5 separate regions of the Homo sapiens genome follow, and regions 1, 3, 4 and 5 are each linked to region 2. Evidence: promoter capture Hi-C in 16 types of primary human blood cells and fetal thymus (Javierre and others, 2016). All regions are on one chromosome and are shown on one strand. Each heading gives the region's core, a stretch centred on a gene start or on the middle of the fragment in contact. The rest is flanking DNA. Distances are from core to core; before and after follow the strand shown. Region 1 has its middle 5.2 kb from the start of UMODL1. Region 2 holds the start of RIPK4 (receptor interacting serine/threonine kinase 4). Region 3 has its middle 7.3 kb from the start of FAM3B. Region 4 overlaps UMODL1 (uromodulin like 1). Region 5 overlaps MX2 (MX dynamin like GTPase 2).

What was found. The method cuts DNA at HindIII sites, captures the fragments that hold promoters and counts their contacts. A CHiCAGO score of 5 or more calls a contact.
Region 1: a contact is called between a fragment that was not itself captured here and the fragment with the promoter of RIPK4 in region 2, in 1 of 17 cell types (fetal thymus). The highest score is 5.5, in fetal thymus.
Region 3: a contact is called between a fragment that was not itself captured here and the fragment with the promoter of RIPK4 in region 2, in 1 of 17 cell types (endothelial precursors). The highest score is 5.0, in endothelial precursors.
Region 4: a contact is called between a fragment that was not itself captured here and the fragment with the promoter of RIPK4 in region 2, in 1 of 17 cell types (fetal thymus). The highest score is 5.5, in fetal thymus.
Region 5: a contact is called between a fragment that was not itself captured here and the fragment with the promoter of RIPK4 in region 2, in 1 of 17 cell types (fetal thymus). The highest score is 5.8, in fetal thymus.

What each region holds. Positions count from the first base shown.
Region 1 is chr21:42,064,051-42,068,119 of GRCh38, reverse strand. It overlaps a transcript of UMODL1 not described here. Among named protein-coding and RNA genes, the nearest start is that of UMODL1, 5.2 kb to the left of the region's middle. RefSeq lists enhancers at 215-769, 3,953-4,022. The HindIII fragment of the contact is 824 bases long and covers 2,043-2,866 here.
Region 2 is chr21:41,765,709-41,769,818 of GRCh38, reverse strand. It overlaps RIPK4 (receptor interacting serine/threonine kinase 4), which reads left to right and starts at 2,767. Exons shown (of 8, transcript NM_020639.3): 1 at 2,767-2,959. The coding sequence starts at 2,778. It overlaps LOC102724800 (a long non-coding RNA gene), which reads right to left and starts at 2,652. Exons shown (of 5, transcript XR_937745.3): 1 at 2,585-2,652; 2 at 1,802-1,960; 3 at 436-1,205. RefSeq lists an enhancer at 856-1,150. The HindIII fragment of the contact is 2,131 bases long and covers 1,397-3,527 here.
Region 3 is chr21:41,307,553-41,311,504 of GRCh38, reverse strand. It overlaps a transcript of FAM3B not described here. Among named protein-coding and RNA genes, the nearest start is that of FAM3B, 7.3 kb to the left of the region's middle. The HindIII fragment of the contact is 247 bases long and covers 1,520-1,766 here.
Region 4 is chr21:42,137,889-42,142,299 of GRCh38, reverse strand. UMODL1 (uromodulin like 1) reads right to left here. Exons shown (of 23, transcript NM_001004416.3): 23 at 1-204. Among named protein-coding and RNA genes, the nearest start is that of UMODL1-AS1, 32 kb to the right of the region's middle. The HindIII fragment of the contact is 352 bases long and covers 1,426-1,777 here.
Region 5 is chr21:41,367,525-41,371,476 of GRCh38, reverse strand. All of the region lies in intron 1 of MX2 (MX dynamin like GTPase 2), which reads right to left. Among named protein-coding and RNA genes, the nearest start is that of MX2, 7.5 kb to the right of the region's middle. RefSeq lists enhancers at 1,153-1,362, 1,296-1,440, 1,315-2,001, 2,233-2,292, 2,002-2,690 and 3 more, a cis regulatory region at 1,368 and a silencer at 2,553-2,602. The HindIII fragment of the contact is 5,010 bases long and covers 1-3,893 here.

The sequences.
Region 1 (4,069 bases), core at 1,205-3,704, 300 kb before region 2:
CACATCCGAGAAGCCTGGTCCACCCTCACACTGGACAGTGAGTGCCACTCCTCCATGTGGCAGCCTTCGGACCCTTCTGGAGAGTTCTCCGGGCCGCCTCTGTTTTGCTCCCCTCCCCCATCTCTCTCTCCCTCACTCACACAGACACGTGCCCTCGTCTTTGTCTCTGTTTCTGTTTACCTTTGAAGAAGCTCGGCTTTCTTATCACAGCCCGAATGACTTTTCCTTTTCCACATTCCACTTCGGAGACTGTGGCCCTCCACGGGCAGCAGTTGCCGGGTTGGATGGAAAGCGAGGGTGCGGCCTGGGGTTGGGACATTGTCTCCAGGCCCCAAGGAGCAGCATGGGCCTGTCGCTTTCTCGTGGCAAGGCCAGAGCAGATCGGAAGGCGAAGAGACACGAGAAACTCCCAGAAGAGGCGCCCAGGCCTTCAGAGGTGCTTCCGTAACACAGCAAAGGCATAGCTAAGGCCAGGGGGGCAGTGGACACGCACGTGCCGGTGTGTTTTCAGACCCTGCATGCCTCACAGTGGAACCTGGGGAAAGCCCTGGATTAGGAGCCAAATACCCTCAGTCCAGTCCTCGTTCTGCCAACGGCTGGACAGGGTCCCCTGGGTGGCATTTATCCATTCAGTGCCTCGGTTTCCTAAATGAGAAATTACCAAAAGGGAATAGTGATGCCTTCTAATTTAATGGTGTTTTAATGCCTCCTGATTTTATGAAAACCAAATTAATTAATGTATGGGAATGCCTTCTAGAACTAGAGTGTATTTTAAGTATCCATCACTTATTGTCATTAAATGTAGGTAAGGCCATTACTGGGGAAATATAATTAAAAATAAAATGTGCTGGCCAGGCACAATGGCTCATGCCTGTAATCCCAGCACTTTGGGAGGGGTGGGGGGTGGATCACGAAGTCAGGAGTTCAAGACCAGCCTGGCCAAGATGGTGAAACTCCATCTCTACTAAAAATACAAAAATTAGCCAGGTGTGGTGGCACATGCCTATAATCTCAGCTACTTGGGAGGCTGAGGCAGAGAATTGCTTGAACCCAGGAGGCGGAGGTTGCAGTGAGCCAAGATCGCGCCACTGCACTCCAGCCTGGAGGACAGAGCGAGACTCCATCTCAAAAAAAAAAAAAAAGAAAGAAAAAAGACGTGTGCTCTAAACCCAGGAAACCTCTCCACAAAGGTGGAAAAGAAAGAAAAGTTTCATTATTGAATAACCGTTAAGCCAGAAGATGATATGCATCACAAGCAATGGCTAAGAGACTGCAAAGAAAGGATCTTATCCTTTTAAAGACTCAAACAGGTACAACTAACTGCATGCGTGTTTTCAACATAAACAATAACTAGTCCTTAAGGAAGAGGCCCTGACAGTGCCATTTGTCACACACCGTTGACCCCAGAACCACCTGGTCACTGGGGTTACCATCTGTGTTTGTTAATTGTCTGTATCTAGAAGAAGAATGAACTCCTATCTTCATGACAGGAGGTGGTTTTGCAGCTTGGAGCAAGATCAACTAAGTTAGGCTTTTGGCCTCCCTAGGAAACCAGAGAGGCCAGGAGACAGTTTGGGAGGCTGAGCTGGGCAGATCGCCTGAGGTCAGGAGTTCAAGACCAGCCTGGTCAACATGGTGAAACCCTGCCTCTACTAAAAATACAAAAAAGATTAGCCAAGCATAGTGACACACACCTGTAATCCTAGCTACTCGGAAGGCTGAGGCAGGAGAATTGCTTGAACCCAGGAGGTGGAGGTTGCAGTGAGCCGAGATTGCGCCACCGCACTCCAGCCTGGGCGACAGAGCGAGACTCCGTCTCAAAAAATAAATAAATAAATAAAGAGTAATGCTCAGAGAAAAAGGAGAGAAAAATCTCTTCCCTTCTTTTCAATCAGGAGAATTAAGCCTCTATTTTTAATTTGTCTCTGTCCTTGAAATCCTGAGGTGGTTTTAAGGGCATAGGGCACTTACCAGAGAAGACTGGCCTGGGTGCTTGCCAGGGCCTCTTCCAACTCTGAGATCGTGAGCATCAAGGATAAGCTTTGGAGCCTATTGATAACCGCATTAGCACCACGATCAGGAATGCTGTCGCCCTAACAATAACGTTAGGACAAAGAATTCACGGTTCATGTAAAAGAGCGAATGCAAGTCAGAAACAAAAATCCACCTATGTCTGGGTCCTGGGACCTGGCTGCGGAGGGCAGCGTGGTCTGGAGAATAGGGTGCCAGCCAGGCCTGGTGTCCTGACTTCTAGACAGGACTCCAGCCTGTCTGTAAAAGTTGGTGCAGGCTGAGTGCAGTGGCTCACTCCTGAAATCCCAACACTTTGGGAGGCTGAGGCGGCCAGATCACAAGGTCAGCAGATCGAGGCCCTCCTGGCCAACATGGTGAAACCCCCTCTCCACTAAAAATACAAAATCTGGGCATGGGGGTGCATGCCTGTAATCCCAGCTACTCGGGAGGCTGAGGCAGGAGAATCGCTTGAACCAGGGAGTCGGAGGTTGCAGTGAGCCAAGATCATGCCACTGTACTCCAGTCAGGGTGACAGAGCGAGACTCCGCCTCAAAAAAAAAAAAAGAAAAAAAAAGAAAGAGATCTGGTGCAGTCCTTGGCCACCTGGACTTCAGGGTCTTGTTTCCAGATAGTGAAGATAACTGGCTCGATCCACACCTGCACCAGCATTTCGTGACTGGATCATCTCTTAGGACGGGTCAGACCACGGTGCTTCTAGACCCATCAGGGCCATTCTGCACCCAGTAATGGATATCATCATGTGGCTTTGAAATAATGAAGCAAGAGCAATAGAATCTGAACTGAAACGCAATAACTGCATGAATGAGTTTATAGTGTGGCATCTTAGAAAGCTTTCTGCTGGAGGGTTCCAAATAAGTGACGCCAAACTCAGAGGGGATCGTTCCCCGCCAGCCCTCATCGCAACAGGCAGCTGCCCCAGCACAGTCACTCCTGGAAAACACCAATGTCCCAAGGCGCGGAGTCTTTCTGCCGGGGCTGAGGTTGGGATAAAAGGACATCACAACAGTGAGTTGCCTCTACCTCGAATCAGGCTTTAATGTTTAAGAGGAAAAGAGAGAAGGTGTACATTCCCCCAGCCGCAAGGATTTTCAAAAGTAAAAACAGAATACAACAGATTCAATAGTTCCAATAAATGATTTTAAAATTCTCAGATATGCGCTCTTTGTCAGGATTCTCCAGAGAAACAGAAAACTGATTTTAAAAAAAGAAAAGAAAAGAAAGAAATTTGTGGGCCGGGCATGTTGGTGCACGCCTGTAATCCCAGCACTTTGGGAGGCTGAGGCGGGCAGATCACCTGAGGTCAGGAGTTAGAGACCAGTCTGGCCAACATGGCAAAAACCCATCTCTACTAAAAATACAAAAATTAGCCAGGTGTGGTGTTGGGCGCCTGCAGTCCCAGCTACTCAGGAGGCTTAGGCAGGGGAATCGCTTGAACCTGGAGGCAGAGGTTGCAGTGCGCCGAGATCACACCTTTGCACTCCAGCCTGGGCAACTAAAGCGAAACTCTGTCTCAAAAGAAAAAAAGAAAAGAAAGAAAGAAATTTGTGATTCTAAGAAATTGAAATTGGCTCACACAGTTACGGAGCTGACAAGTCCACCACCACCTGCAAGGTGAGTCAGCAAGCTGGGGCCCAAGAGAGCCAACGTGTAGTTCCCGTGCCAACGTAGGCAGACTCAAGACCCAGGGAGAGGTAATGTTTCAGTTCAAGTCCAAAGGCAGCAAAAAGCTGATGTTCCAGTTCGGAGGCCGTCCGGCAGGAGGGGTTCTCTCCTCCTCGGGGGAAGGGGCAGCCCTTTTGCTCTTTTCAGGGCTTCAGCTGATTGCATGAGGCCCACCCACATTCTGCTTGACTCAGTCTATTGATTCAAATATTAATCCAATCAGATCAGAGGAGGGACCTGCAGAGGCACGGCCGGCAGAGAAACTGTTGGGCTGAACTGCCAACGGAGAACGCCAGGGATCTGATTCACCAGCAGCCTTGGGGACATTCACCTCGGGCTCGACAGACTGCCAGAAACCCCCCAAGCCCCAAGG
Region 2 (4,110 bases), core at 1,518-4,017:
ATGCACCATGGTCACAGCCTGGGACCCCATCTGAGGCAGGCTGGCTGCAAACCCAGAGACGTCTCTATCCTGTCTTCTCCCTGGCCGGCAACCTTCATTGTTCCCTGCGGTAGGATGTTAAAGGCAGCTTCCTGGCACTTCCAGACCAGGGACCTTGGGCTGCCTGCTGGGTGGGTCAGTGCTAAATGGCCCCCTATGAAGAAGGGCACAGCTTGGGGACCTGGAGCTCAAGGGATCACCTATTTAGATTCGCTGTCAGGACATCCAGTATAGGAGGAAACTGGCTTGGAATTCTTCTGGGGAAGGGGCCAGGAGGAACACAGGGTAGTGGGGGAGTGGGGGCTTGCAAATGTCAGCAGACAGCCCCCTTCCCCAACTCCTCCTTCCCACCTCCCACCCCCCATTGTCTCCCCTCGTCGTCCCTCCCCTCCTCACCTGCACTGCACTCCCAGGCGGGTCAACAGTCTCTCCGTGGAGCTTCGTGCCCTCGGGGCTTACCTCCTAAAAACCTTCAAGTCTGCACCCCTACTGTGCCTCCGTGGCTGCGCCCTGCTTTCCACCCAGGATCTGTGCTGATTGGTTTGTTTGTAACCACACCGGGCACGTTGTCCATGCAGGCACTTCATGAGGTTAATTAATGTTGTCCCATGAAACCTCAGGACAGCCACCTCCCAACTTGCCCTATTATTCATTTCATCTTTTTCTTTAAATCGTTCCACTTTTCTTTGGCCCTAAAATGTATTTAAAACGAAACTAAATTACTTTTATACTTGGAAATTCTAACCTCACCAGCCTGGGACCAATGACTGTTAACATAAATAGCAGCTGCGCTCCCGGAATCCCAGAGGGTCTGGAACTCGAATTCACAATTCCTGGAAAGGTGTTTGTTTTCGTTTTACCAGTTGTCATGTGAATCGGTAAAGCACTTCAAAGTCCGCAGAGGAGCCGGATACCAAACCAGGTTCCTGCCGCCGAGCCCGTGATCTTTGGACCCGATCTGCTCACAGCTGGGAGCTGGCTCTTTTGGTCTCCAGGGGGCTCTGGTCTTCAGTCCCAGGCACCAGGCACTGAGCTAGCAGCAGACACTCCATAAATATTTGTCAAATGAAGCACACAGATGATTAAATAAATGAAATTGGAGCGTTTTATTACTTGCGTGGTGTGGGCTCTTAGTCACCCCCAGCTGCGGAGCTGTGTGCCGGAGACTGTAGATGGAGAAAGGTACTTTGCTAGAGCTGAGCCCCGGGAACAGGACAGGTGACTCACTTTCAAGTCCATTCATTTTTTTCCCACCAAAATAATAACTATGTTTACTTCCAAGGTATCTTCGTAGATTCAAAACTCCAATTATTTTTTAAAACATTAGTCCAAATGTAAGTTACATTTGTGACAAGCTTAAAACAACTATTTGCCACTCCAGCCTTAAGGAGACCAACTTTAATTTCCGGAGTATGTGGGAAAGGAAGTGGCTCCCTGGTCCCCCCAGGAGGCCCCCCGAGCAAGCATCGTCATGTTGGGATGTGTGAGTTCCCTCCAAAGAGCGGCCGGATGGGAGTGGGGAGGCAGTGGGGAGACGCGGCTCCCCGCTACAGGCTATGAAAGAAGGTCCGCGCCCGTTTGGAAGGGGGAGCCTGGAGACACTAGGTCTGCGGCTTTCAATGCGCTGACTTGGGGCAGCCTCTCTCTTTCCGAGTTACTAACACAAAAACACAGTTAATGTCGTTAAAATACCCTCTCCTTTAGCTCCGCCCTCCTGTCTTCATTATTAATCTCCTGTGGCCAAAAATAAGCCTTCACTCACCGTTGCGTCTCAGGAATGAGTGAGTGTTTTCTGAGGTGTGGACGCGTGCGTGATCTGTGATGCACTTCGGCCTCTAACCCAAATATCCTTCCAAGGCTGGGAATTTTTTTTCCCCATATGTGAAAAAAAAATCTTTCCTTTTCAAACCATCTGTTCTACCTGTAAAAAGAGGCTGTTATTTAGGAAAGGATGAGGGAACTCTTGCATTTGAAATGGACTTTAGATTTGCTGTTGGGTAATTTTTTAAAAAAAGTTACTTTCTGAGAGGAAACTCGTGTAAAAAAGCAAGACGTGAACCTGCAGGGAATTAGACTAACGAGTGAAGAAAGCCAATTTCAAAAAATTAGGCGCTGTATGATTCCTGTATCTAAACATAACATTTCTGAAATAAAACAATTTTAGAAATAGAGGAAAGATTAGTGATGCCAGGGCTCCGGGGTGCGGCTGTAAAATCGCCACAGGAGTGGCCAGGTGGGGGTGGATACGGGAAGGTACACAGATGATTACATTGTGTAAAACTAATACATGCAAAGGAAGACGAGTAAAACGGCAAAACTGAATAAGATCGGTGACTGTATCAAAGTCAATATCCTGGTTGTGAGATTGGACTTTTTTTTTTGGCAAAGTTTTGCAAAGTGGTAACACTGGGGGAAACTAGGCAAAGTGAATGATTTCTTACAACTGCATGTGACTCCGCAATTAAGGAAAAAAAAAAAGCAAAGAAAAGCAGGGCAGCTGATGCGCACGTCGAGACCCGTGAGAAGCGTGAGAAGCTCTGCTCACCCAGGGGAGAGCGCAGTGACCCGCAGCGTCTATTCATCCGTCCGCAGTCACCGGGCGCTGGCAGAGAGGGCGCCCGGGGGGCGGGTAAGTGGGCGGGGCCTGGGGGCGGGACGACCTACGGAAGTGACGTAACAGGGCGGAGCGCGCACCTGGGCACCTGGGCAGCCGCCGCGGCGCTGGCTAGACGTGCGCGATGGAGGGCGACGGCGGGACCCCATGGGCCCTGGCGCTGCTGCGCACCTTCGACGCGGGCGAGTTCACGGGCTGGGAGAAGGTGGGCTCGGGCGGCTTCGGGCAGGTGTACAAGGTGCGCCATGTCCACTGGAAGACCTGGCTGGCCATCAAGTGCTCGCCCAGCCTGCACGTCGACGACAGGTGAGCGGCCCGGGCGGGGCGCTGGGGCGGCTGGGGCCCGGGCTGGGGTCGGGGTCGGGGTGCTCTGGTCCCGGGGTCCTGCCTCTCTCTCCCGAACTCACCCCCGGAGCAGCTTCGGGGGGGAAACCAATTGCCGGCGAGGCCGCGGGGCTCCGACAATGTCCACTCGGCCTGTCCGGGCCGGAGGGGCGCGGGGGCTTTGGCGAGCCCGGGCTCGATCGCGCACGTCGGGGCCGGGTCAGGCGGCTCCTCTGGGGCTCCTCTGGGGCTCCTCGGGGGCCGCGTCTGCCCGGACGTCCTAAGGCGCCCAGTCGTGCTTCCTGACACTCCCCGAGTGGCCCTGGTTTTCGGGGTCTCCAGCTCGCCTTGCGCCTCGGACCCGCGCCCTTGGGAGGCGCGTCCGGCCCGCCCGGGACCCACCGGGGCGCTGCGGTCTGCGCAGGGCTTAGAAAAATTGCCATGTGGGCCTCTGGGCTTTGTGAGTGGAGTTAGCCTCCGTTCGACTTACTTAGTAATTTACGTTGGAACACAAATTGGTGTAAGACTGTAATTATTTCGGTCGGAAGCTTCGGCTTGGCTCGGGCGAGGCTTCCCGGGCGCCCGGCGCTTGCGCGGTGGAGCTCCGGGGCTCGGGCCTGGCAGTGGGGTCCGGCACGGGGCCCGGGGTGTTGATCCGTCCGCCCAGCGCTTCCTCGCCGCACACTCTCGTTTTAGCTGACTTAATTTCGAGACCGACCCGCTAGGGAAGGGCCTTGCATTCAAGTTCTGTGGCCGTGCCATGGGGCCCTCCTGCACCCCAGTTTCCCAGTCCAAAAGTCAGAATGGAACCTGCCTGTACCTACCTAGCAGGAGTGTTCAAGGTAACAAAGACGAATGGGAAGGACGCAGAGCCGCCCGTGTTAAATTCGGTGGGTCGGTTGTCGTCTGTGCATAATTTGAGAGGTAGGGAGAATGTTCTTGAACAGTACCTCTTTGTTGTTGTAGATTTCACTGTTTACAGTTGATTTTGATGGTTCATATGTAAGGCTCAATTTAGCACGTTTTAATTATTTATCCTTTAATGAAGCTTACCTTCTACATGGAAGCTATGCTTGTATTTTACCTAGAGATTCCTTGAACACATACACTCAGAAGCGACACCTTTTTAAAAT
Region 3 (3,952 bases), core at 394-2,893, 460 kb after region 2:
GAATTAATATATTAAAAATTTGTCATTTTTAATTTTTTTTTTAATACAGGGTCTCACTCTGTCACCCAGGATGGAGTGAGGTGACATGATCATAGCTCACTGCAGCCTCAACCTTCCAGGTTCAATGCGATCCTCCCACCTCAGCCTCCTGAGTAGCTGGAATCACAGGTGTGTGCCACCACACCCAACTAACTTTTGTATATATACATATATATATATATATATATATATATATATATATATATATATATATTTTTTTTTTTTTTTTGTAGAGACAGGGTTTTGTCATGTTGCTCCTCACTTTCAACTTCGAATGCAGTAAATATCAATAGCCAGAACCTTCAGAAACAAAAGCTCCTGGGGCTCCTCCGTCACTTTTAAGTGTATAAAGGGGTCCTGAGAGCAAAATGTTTGAGAACCACTGCTTTAGACTGCCTGGCTGAAACACTGAGAAGATCCATTGGAAACGAAAGGGACAGATAACCTAGGTTTAGAGTCAGACTTGGTGTCAATCAAGGTTCCTCACCAAACTAACAGATTTGGAACAACTTATTTAATACTTTTTAAACTCAGATTTTTAAAAAAATACGTGAAATGGGGAAAAAATATCCTTTTAGGAACTGTTAAGATTAAATGGGATAACACATGAAACATGCCAGCAGACACTTACACTTGTCATTACTTATGCAGCTGCCCTTCACCCTACAGGGCTGGGAGCAGCCAGGCTTGCTGAGCCAGGGGTGATGTTATCCAGAATCAGGGCCAGCTGACCAACTACGTGGAAAGCAAGAGGCTCTCTGTGTCCCAGCATGCACCCTGGGAGTACCAGAGGATGGTGCAGGGCTGACTCTTCAGAGCTCTTCCAACCTGGGAGAAGGGTGTGCTCATTTTGGAAGGGCCAGAAACCCAGACAGAGCACCTTAGTGGAAGTACAGGTCCTAGTTCAATTCAGTTCAATCAGCCAGATGTGGATGAAGCACCTACTAGATCTCAGGCAATGTGTAAACTTCAGAGATGCATCAGTGCACAAAAGTGACACAGATATGGAACTTGTGCCACTCACATTCTAGTGCAAAGATCCAGAAAATGAGGCAGTAGCTCACGGGGTTCCTAGGGAGGACTGAGCTGCAGATGGGAGCACCAAGAGTGGAAAACCCACAAATGAGCAGAGGACAGACAGTGACCCCACAGGCTCCTGTGTGGCCAAAAGAGTGTGTATGGTCACGTGGTGCCACCAAGAGGAACTGGTGATGCGGGGCCGGGGTGGGGTGAGGCTCATTGTGAACATAGCCATGGAGAGCCAGGGTGATGACTGGCAGGACAGTGGAGAGACCGCAGGCTTCTCCTGGAGCAAGAGAACCAAGAGACAAGGAAGATGTTGAGGCTGAGCAAGGCTGCCTTTGGGTAGAAACTCCCACCCTCCTTCCTGAATCATAGCTCTGTCAGTCACTTCCCTGCAGCACCAGGCTGGGAGGATGAGAAACCCAGAGACCTGTGAACTCTGGCTTGGCAGAAAGCTTAGCCTACATAAAAATTTCTGAGTCTGAATGGGACCAGAAGAGGCAGGCAAAGGTAAACTGAGCTCTCCTGAAAGAGGGAAAGTCACCATTTTGGGTTGCTCCCCTTTTGTTCTGGGAAACAACCTGGGTGGACCAGGTGGTAATGCAAATGTCCAGTTCCCAAGCGTGATGGTATCTGGCACTGGGGCATGACTATTGCCCTCAGGAAGGACAGCCATCAAATATTCAGATCAATGCGTCTAAGCTTTTAAACTGGTCTTGTTGGTTCTGCCGGTAAAGCTGCTGCAAACTGTTTCCCCTGTGAGTCTCCTGAATGTGCCAAATGTGTCTGTACAGAAAATCCATGGCTCTCATTTGGAAAGGTGTGGGTTCACACTCTTAGCTGCAGCAATGCACCCTGAAACATACACTGCAGGTTTTGGGAAGAATCCAAAGTTTTAGATGGTTTGATCTGCAACTGTGACTGGGGATGTGTATATCCTACAGTTCCACGTGTCCCTTATGGGTTTTCTGCATCATCATGATGCTCGTGGCCAGCATGGGAGGACAGGAAGAAGCGGAAGCAGAACTCAAGCCTAGCAAGGAAGAGACCCTGGCACATGGGTGACCCACTGTGGGAAGGAAAGGCACCCAACTCTCATGAACTTGAGTGACACAGAAGTAAGAAAACAGCTCCAAGGGGAGGCTGAAGCTATTATGGTCCATTTGTCAGAAAAGGAGACTCCAGTTGGAAAAGAGATTTTGACCAAAAGTAGAATATAAATCAGTACTACAGTTTACAGGATCATCTAACTAGCTAGTCCTGAAGGCGGATGATGCTGTGTGCTCACTTGAGCAGTGTGGAAATCCCTGGCCACCCTGTCTTTTACCCATTAGGCAACTGAAGTGCACAAAGTCTGTGTGTAGCCCAAGGCCACTCAGCTAGAGCCTCGGTCTCTTAAGTTGAGACCCTGCATCAGAGTCTTCTTGGTCCCAGTAACACATCCCATACCTCCTTTTGTGAAGATGAATCTAAAGTGGGAGGTCACCAGGTCAAGGGCAAGGGAAGATCCACATGCTTCTGCTGACCTCCCAGAGTCTGTGTGACCCTGCCACCACTTCTCTTCCTACTTGTCCCAACCCTACTCCTGGGACCTGATGACCATTTCACTGTTTATTTGCACCTCGCCTGGACTGCAAAATGTGTGAAAAACCGAGGCAGGCGGATCACCTAAGGTCAGGAGTTCGAGACTAGCCTGACCAGCATGGCGAAACCCTGTCTCTACTAAAAATACAAAATTAGTCGGGTGTAGGGGTGCATGCCTGTAATCCCAGCTACTCTGGAGGCTGGGGCAGGAGGATCGCTTGAACCCAGGAGGCACAGGTTGTGGTGAGCCAAGATCACACCACTGCACTCCAGCCTGGGCAACAAGAGTGAAACTCTGTCTCAAAAAAAAAAAAAAAAAAAAAGAAAAGAAAAACAAAAACCAACAATCAAAAGACTGGCACCCAAACTCGTTGCCTTTGCTACTGCTTTTCACTCTTGTTAAAGCCATTTCTGCTGACGGCAGCTGCACAGATTGTTTGGAGGAAGAGCATGGAAGTTGGGTGAGCACTACCCAGAACCTCTACTTCTGCCCTCATGGCTGGGTGGTTTGGGGCATGCCATTTAACCTCTCTGAGCCTGGCTTCTTCATCTACACAACAGGGGCAGTGACACTCATCTCATAGGGTGGTTGTGGGGATTAAGTGAGAAAATGGAGAGAAGGTACCTTGAATAATCCTGGATGCAAATGAGGCATCCCATAAGTGGTCACTACGGTTGTTATGTTAATGGGTTATTTTATCTCTCACTGTCATAAGACATCAAGAGAAAAACTGGCTGAATTTCAGTGTTGATTTAGAAACAAGTTATGTAAGGGATTATGTATAAAAAAGAACTATATGACACACATCTTGAAATACAGGCACACCTCACTTTATTGTGCTTCACTTCATATGCAGATACTGCATCTTTTACAAATTGAGGGTTCCTAGCAACCCTGCCTCCAGTAAGTCTACTGCTGCCATTTGTTTCCAACAGCATGTGCTTACTTCCTGTCTCTGTGGCGCATTTTGGTAATTCTGGCAATACTTCAAACTTTTTCAGCATTATCATATATGGTATGGGGATCTGTGATCAGACATCTTTGATGTTACTATTGTGACTATTTTGGGGGTGCCATGAACAGTGTCCACAGAAGACAGTGAACTTCATCCATATATGTGTGTGTGCTTTGGCTGCTCCATTAACCAGCTATTCCCCATCTCTCTCCCTCTCCTTGAGCCTGTTCCCTGAGATACAACAATATTGAATTAGACCAATTAATAACATTACAATGGCCTCTAATCATTCAAGTGAAACAGTCACACATATTTCTCTTTAAATCAAAAGCTAGAAATGATTAAGCTTA
Region 4 (4,411 bases), core at 352-2,851, 370 kb before region 2:
CTCTTCGGGACAGACGGTGGCTGCTGTCTTCCTTTCTGGGCTCACCCGGGCTCTGGCAGAGCCCACCCGTCAGAGCAGACCTCCGTTAAGGCTTGAAGAGTTAAGAACCGAGGGATGGGTGGAGGTGCAGAGAGACACTGGGGATCCCGGGGGAGCCCACCAGGGAAGCTCTGAGGTTCTGGAGGCAGCTTGACTCACGGCGACCTGTGTGGAGGAAGAGGTCACCTGGGTCAGCTTGCACGCAGGAAAGGTAAAGTTAATACAGAAAACCCCAGGAGGAGGGGTAGTGGAGGAAACACCAACCCGAGGACATGGCGTCTATGTTTACTGGAGAGGGACAGATCAAGCCCCTAATGAAAAGGCAGCCACTCCCAGAGTGCCCAGTGGAACGGGGACCATGGGGCTGTGCCTGCCCTCAGGTGAGCGATGCTCCTGACACGCCAACTGGTGGGGGTGGCTGGTGAAGATACCTGAGCCAGACGAGCACAGCTGGGGCCCCTGCACCTTTGCACCATCCGTGGAGAACCCACCAGGACTCTGGGAACATCTCTGAGTGGGGCTGCCCAAGGGTCGACCTGGTGGGGGTGGGTGGGTTGGCTGATGGTTTTCAAAGAGCAGATGTCTGCAGGAACTTTAGAACTGGTGAGACAGTTCTCACTTCGAAAGACAGGAGCCCCGGGAGAACAAAGAAAGACAAGAGGCCAGTTTTCCCTCGGATGTTTTAATTTCGAGGAAGGGGACATCCAGCATGACCCAGCACCAATACACCAGATTTCCTTAGAAAGCTAGCGGGATAGTGTTGGCCTCATCGCTGGGATTCGCATCTTAAATATTAAGTAAAAGGCACTGACATTTCCTCGTAACTCTATCTAGGGAGGTGACTGGCCTCTAGCACTGGCCCTGTCTATGCTGTAAGGGTCCTGAGACCCCAGAATACTGCGTATGTTAGTTACCAGGAGTCCTGGCAGGAGAGACGGGAAAGACAAAGCTAACACAAGCATCCCCCTCACATGGGCAGAATCACATCCACAGGCGGGTGGTGTTTTCTCTGAAGTTGCCCAGCAAGGGCAGCATGGAGGTTGCCTTTTGGAAACGTGTGCTGTAGTCTGGGCTTTGCTGGTGACCTGGGAGGATTGGCTTGAGTTCTCTGGGCCCCATTTCCTCATTTTAAGATTGGAGCCAGTGTCTACTATACTTTGCTGAGTTGTTTCAAAAATCTGTTATCTCAAGAAAATAAGGACCTGAGCACAGGGAAGACGGGCTTGGCTGGGGAAGCTGCCTGCCTGACGAAGAGGGGGCGGGCTGGTATTGACAATGTCTCCTGCCCAGGATGGGAGGCAATGGGGTTGGTGAGGAGGGGGTCTTCATGGCCCAAACCCCATGGGCCCCAAACCAGAGGCCAAAAGCTACCAAACTGAGGAAGCTTCCTTATTTTTCACTATTAGAGTGTAAAGTTGAACTGAAACTTCGCTGTTGTTCCCTGCCCCTTTGGGATCCCCGGAGGTGGCTGAGGACCCAGACCACAATTGAGCAGCAGCACCTGCCTCCCGGGGAGGCTCAGGGGTCCTGGGAAGGCTCCTTCCCTGTAACCACAACAGTTGCTGCCTCTCAACTGGGACACCTGGTGTCCCCACTGCAAGAATTAAGAATTGTGGATCCCCTTGCACAGCTGCTAAAATACAAATTCTCCGGGTCTCTGATGAAGGGGAAAGGCAAGGGGCATTGTTCTAAGGGTCCATCAGTCATGTGAACACTAGTGTAAGAAAGGCTCTAAGCTTGGTAGCTAAGAGAGCTGACCCCAGAGCCAAACGGAAATCCCATGCAGCCCCAGCTCGGCCACCTCCCAGCCATGTGACCTGGGAGGCCTATCCCTTCCTGCCCTGGACCTCCCAACCACGTGACCTGGGACACATCCCTTCCTGCCCTGGACCTCCTAGCCACGTGACCTGGGACACCTATCCCTTCTTGCCCTGGACCTCCTAGCCACGTGACCTGGGACGTCTATCCCTTTCTGCCCTGGATTCCCATCTATAACACAGGATGCTAATAACAGCACAACCTCACGGGGATGTTGGGAAACAACAGACATTGTCAACATCAGCCCACCCCCTCTTCGTCGGGCAGGCAGCTTCTCCAGCCCAGCCCATCTTTCCTGTGCTCAGGTCCTTATTTTCTTGAGATAACAGATTTTTGAAACAACTCAGCAAAGTGTAGTAGACACTGGCTCCAATCTTAAAATGAGGAAATGGGGCCCAGAGAACTCAAGCCAATCCTCCCAGGTCACCAGCAAAGCCCAGACTACAGCACACGTTTCCAAAAGGCAACCTCCATGCTGCCCTTGCTGGGCAACTTCAAAGAAAACGCCACCCGCTTGTGGAAGTGATTCTGCCCATGTGAGGGGGACGCTTGTGTTAGCTTTGTCTTTCCCGTCTCTCCTGCCAGGACTCCTGGTAACTAACATGCGCAGTATTCTGGGGTCTCAGGACCCTTACAGCATAGACGGGACCAGTGCTAGAGACCAGTCACCTCCCTAGATAGAGTTACGAGGAAATGTCAGTGCCTTTTACTTAATATTTAAGATGCGAATCCCAGCGATGAGGCCAACACTATCCCACTAGCTTTCTAAGGACATCTGGTGGGTCGGTGCTGGGTCATGCTGGATGTCCCCCTCCTTGAAATTAAAACATCGAGGGAAAATTGGCCTCTCGTCTTTCCTTGTTCTCCTGTTGGCTGAGAGGGTGGGCAGTTGATATGGTGTGGGTCTGTGTCCCCACCCAAATTTCATGTTCAATGTGATCCCCATATTAAAGGTGGGGCCTGGTGGGAGGTGGTTGGATCATGGGGCGGATCCTTCATAAATGATTTAGCACCATCCTCTTGGTGCTGTCTCACGATAGAGCTCTCATAAGATCTGGTTGATTAAACATCTGTAGCACCTGCCCCAACCCCTTCCTCCTGCTCCAGCCATGGAAGACGTGCCTGCTTCCCCTTGGTCTTCTGCCATGATTGTAAGTTTCCTGAGGCCTCCCCAGAAGCCGAAGCCGCATGCTTCCCTTACAGCATTTGGAGTCAGCAGTCTCACACGCTGCCAGATAAGCCTCATGATTGCTTCTCTTCTTCTTTTATTAGTATTTATTTATTTTTGAGGCAGGGTTCCCCTCTGGAGTGTAGTGGGGCAGTCTCGGCTCACTGCAACCTCCACCTCTCGAGCTCAAGGGATCCTTCCACCTCAGCCTCCCAAGTAGCTGGGACCACAGGTGTGTGCCACCACACCCGGCTTATTTTTGTATTTTTTGTAGAGATGGAGTCTTTCTATCTTGCCCAGGCTGGTCTGGAACTCCTAAGCTTAAGCGATCCTCCTGCCTTGGCCTCCAAAAGTGCTAGGATTACAGGCATGTTCTTTTTTTAGAAAAATCTCAAAATTTGGCCGGGCACGGTGGCTCACGCCTGTAATCCCAGCACTTTGAGAGGCCGAGACGGGTGGATCACCTGAGGTCAGGAGTTGGAGACCAGCCTGACCAACATGGAGAAACCCTGTATCTACTAAAAATACAAAACTAGCTGGGTGTGGTGGCGCATGCCTGTAATCCCAGCTACTCAGGAGGCTGAGACAGGAGAATCGCTTTAACCTGGGAGGTGGAGGTTGTGGTGAGCCAAGATCGCACCACTGCACTCCAACCTGGGCAACAAGAGCAAAACTCCATCTCAAAAAAAAAAAAAATCTGAAAATCTTTACAAAAGTCCCAGTCTTGGTGTTTCCCACTGAAGGTTTATACTAACCATACTGCCCTCCATAATGCTTGTCATTCATTTGTGGTGAACTATGTGCAGGCCCAGGAAAAACAAAAGTCCACAGGGCAGATCAGAGAAGCATCTTCAGCCTCAAAAGGTCATACATAAGTCGGGGCTGCGGGCATGAGCAGCAAGGTGTGGGGGGTCCACTGTGGCATCCACACCACACGTGACAATCCCTACGAGCACCAGGTTTCAGGGACACTCGGCCGAGGACCATCGTTAGGATCCACCAGCAATTGAGGGCGTCAGACCCCATAGCGGGGCCTCTTGGGCATCTTCCCATTTAAATCTCACACCCTCCACGTGGCCGGAAATGTTACCATGGTTTCTTTTACAAATGATGAAACCGAGGCACCAAGAGGCTCAGGACCTTGCCCGGGTGGTCAAGAGAGTGGGTGGCAGAGATGGGATTTGTGGTGGGCCCCTGGGTCCTGTGGTCACCCATATAGCACTGCCGCTGGTATCGTGGAGCCAGTCCAGTGGGTGTGTGAAGCGATCGAACCTTCACCAACCTACCTGTAGTTTCCCCTCTCTGCCTGCTCCTGGTTGCTTTTTCAGAAGGGAGGCTGCACGCTCCGTAAAGGGCCACAAAACACAGACACACACATATCTACCC
Region 5 (3,952 bases), core at 139-2,638, 400 kb after region 2:
CCTCCAGCCTGGTGTGGGTCCGCTGGAAGAGACCTCAAGGCAAAAACTTTTCAGACCTCTTTGGAAGGAGCCATTTCAGGTCCTCCTAGCAAATGCCAGGGCAGTCAAGATCCAAGGTGTTGACCCAAGTACTCAAGAGTCAGTAGAAACAGGCAACAAACCCAGACCAATGGATCAGCTCAAATGACCTCAAACCAACACTAACCACAAAAGCCTCCAGATGCAAAAACTAAGAGCTATGGACCAAGCAGTCGGCTTTGGGAGTGGACAGCTTCACTCGAGATGACGAGACCAGATAATGATTGAACTTCTTGTGACTCCCACCACAGTGGATTTCTTTGTGTGTATTTTTAAACATTATACTCATGGCTATTCTCTCTTTTTCAGGATCAGATTTCAATCCTGCAACCACGTTTTCTAATTTACTTGTTTTTGTCTTCTTCCTCCCTCCTTCAGACCAAAACACATTTTCTCCTAGCCCACCCTAAGAATGACTCAGCAGTCCATTTGGAAATCTTGCCTCTTGCTGGATCTGCCACCCATTTCCAACTCCAGGAACCACACAAATCGTGAGCATTCCCCTACTGAATTCCACGCCATACATTTTCCAACACATAATTCCAACACATAATTACCTTAAGATCCATAGAATAAGTATTCTTATGCCCAGACACACATAGGCTGCCATAATCACTCCTACCATAAAACACAACCCGCATGGCCGCGGTCTGGGGGAAATGATCCTGCCTCCTATATGAGCACCCTGATGCTTTTCACATCCCTTTAGATCTGCTCTCAATTTCACTGAAGGCAATGTTACCACATACTTACATTTCTCATGAACAGATTTTTGCTTCCAACTCTTCTCCGCTCATGAAATACTGTTATACAAACAATAGAACCATTTGCAAGAGAAATATGCATGAAGAAAAATGTCCACGTGCAGGAAGGCAAGACTGTTTAGTTGCCACGGAAGTGGTCATCGCCGTTTGCTGAAACAGAGCTCATGGGAAACTTTTCTCTCCGAACAACCCCACACCGCCCCACTCCAACGGTGCCACGGGAGGGCCCCTTTCCTTACATGGTGCCAATGCACCCCCATGCTGGCCCGAGGACCGTCATCGTACTTTGGGGGCTCCTAGCGATACAATCTCAGGATTCAGCTCCTCTCCTGTCCCATTTCCTCTGCTCGTCACAGCTTTCACAGAAGTAGCTTTGCTGGAAGTGTTAGAGCCGCAGGTTCCAACAATTAACTTGAAGGTCTTTCACCTTGGTAGTGGTTCCGGATTTACGGCTATCACAGGCTTATCCCTTGCTCTGGGTGGAATGACACAGCCCAGGAAAAGAACCTTTACCCACCCGCCATGGTGGGACGGACGACCATCCAGCTTTGGGCCACGCAAGTCGTGGGCGGAGCTCTGGGGAACACTTCCTGTTGCTTTGCTACCCTCGTCGAGTCTAGCAAAACAATCTCCACATGCAAACACTGGCTTTCCAAAGTAGAGAGCAGAGCTTGGAATCTTTTCTGGCTAAAGGCAGGCTGAGGGGGACGCGGGCTTCCTGGAAGTTCCCCGACTTTGCTGATGGGACTGTCCCCTGCTTGCTGCACAGCCACGGCGGGGCGGGAGCGGGGGCGGGGGCGGGGGGCAGGGGTGCGGCGGGCAGGGAGGTCCCCGCTATTGTGGAGGGAGGAGAGTGACTGATCGCAAGGCTCTGTGCTGGATGCGGCATCATCCCCCATGCAGGGTGGCCCTGGCTTCTACCGAAGGTGGCTGCTGAGAGCGCCCTGCAGGAAGGCCCCAGGGGCACCAGAGTCCCAGAGCAGCACCTCACTTCTCGGGAATACCCCTTCCAGAAACCCTGAGGCCAGCCCAGCACTCCCACCTGCTGGCCCAGCAGCTCTCAGCGGCTTTCCTCCCTTGGGACAGAGACTGCTTACACTGCCGGGCTCAAAAACCTGCCCCGTGCCCCGGCCAGCCTCATCCCCAGATGTCACCCTGTGATGACCTGGACTGCCCTCTCTGCAGTGGAATCTTCACTAGGACCCTCTGTCTCAGCGTTTCCTAATGAGCTCTTGCCCAGTCTTGCATCCTCCCCGCGCAGCCTCAGAGGGGCGGATCTTCCAGCAGAGCCAGCGGCTCCTGAGCTCAGCAGCCCCACCTGGGGTCCCTCCTCACTGGGAGGAAAGACCATGGTTGTGTGAATGGCCCCGCCGCCGCTCAGCCTTCAGCTCCTGTTCTCCAGCCTGGCTCCCAGAGGTCCAGGTCCACAGGCCTCCTGCACCCCCCTCCTCCCATGGGGGCTGAAAGCACTTCCTGTTTTCAGAACTAGCCCTGGGTTCGTAAAACGTTTTCTGATGTGAAATCCTTGAAACCAGAAGGGCTAGGCAGCAATTTTATGGGATCACTGAGAGATGAGTCCATCTAAAGTTGGCACAAACAGCTCCTAGCCCTACGGAGACTTTCTCAGGGGGTACAGGAGGGCTTGGCCAGGACCCAGCAGCTCGGTGGGCCTGGTGGCACCCACCCTAGCAAGTGAGATCTCAGGTGGCCTCACTCCACCCATCTGTCTGGGAGGGAGCCTGGGACTCTGAACCCCTAGCCACAATATCCTTCAAAGGCTGAGAGCTGGAGCCAGCTGCCCTTGGTGACGAAGTCAGGGGTCCAGGAACAAAACCGAGTGCTGATGGGAGGTGATAACTCAGCCTCAACTTCTTCCTCTCCATGGGAAGAAAGAACAAGGGAAAGGAGGGTTCCTTTTGTGAAGCCCAATATTCTTCATTTCATGTTCCTTTTAAAACATATTTAAAACTGTCGCCACCCTCACCCTCACCCTCATTTTCATGAAGGGCAGGTCTTGCTAAGCGTATCATGAGCTGATTAAGTTTGAGAGGACAGGAGCTGGGCACAGATTGCTCTGCAAAATAAAGGGGTGAAAAGTTGCAGGGGTGAACATGTGTGAAGGTCGGAGGCAGGAGTGAGCCGTGGGGTGACATGTAGGGGATGAGAATTCCCTCAGTCCCCCTCCCCATTGCAGTTTAGGGAGGATTTTCTGACACGGGCCTGTTGAGTAAGGAATGTAGGTTTCGGGTTGTCTGGTGTGTGCCTGGTGAACCATCTGTCTCCCCTGCACAATCTTCAGAAATGGCTACAGTGTGTCTGTGTGAGTGGACTGTCTCGGGAGCCTGTCGGCTGGCTGGGTGCCCCTGCAGGCTCACGGAGACGACACGGAAGAGCCGGGTGACACATGGACAGGTGGGACTTGGGCTATGCACAGAGGCAGGAGGGAATGAAAGTGGGGGGCTTAAGAGGCTTAGGGGTGCAGGCCTCTGCTTTCAGGAGCCGCTGCACTGTGGGTTCCTCTCCAGGGCTTGGTCCCCACGTGGGAGCTTCCGCAGCCCAGTATAAATGCAGAGCATGGGAGCTGTGGACCTTGACTTGAAGAGAAAGTGCAGGTCTTGAGAGAGGGGAACTGAAAAACCAAGAAGACAGCTGGTGAGAGAAGAGGAGAAAAGAGAAGACAAGGTGGCTGTCAGGGTGCAGCAGACAGCCAAGTTAAGAGTTAAGACAAAGATGAGGAACAGGGTGAGGTCAGAATCCAGGAGGGAGCTACTGAGGGCCAGGTCGGGGGTGACGGATCCAAGGAAGGACAGCAAGGCCTTGATAAGATGCAGTGGACCCAGAGGAGAGGTGAGGCCAGCTGGCTCTGTACTGCTGAGCCGCAGGATTTGGAGTTGCTGTCAACTTCGAGGCTGCTGTTAAACCAGGGGGCTGCCAAATATTTTCAAGCGGTGACCAGGCCAGGAGTCTGAAGACTAAGAAGCATGCATTCTGGATGAATTGAAAATCGGTAAGAAAATAGGAGGGGATCCTTTTTTCTTAGAGGATCAAGCTTGGAAAGTCCCTCCTTCTGACTGAGAAAAAAAAGGGATTTGGTTTATTGCAGCTCCCAC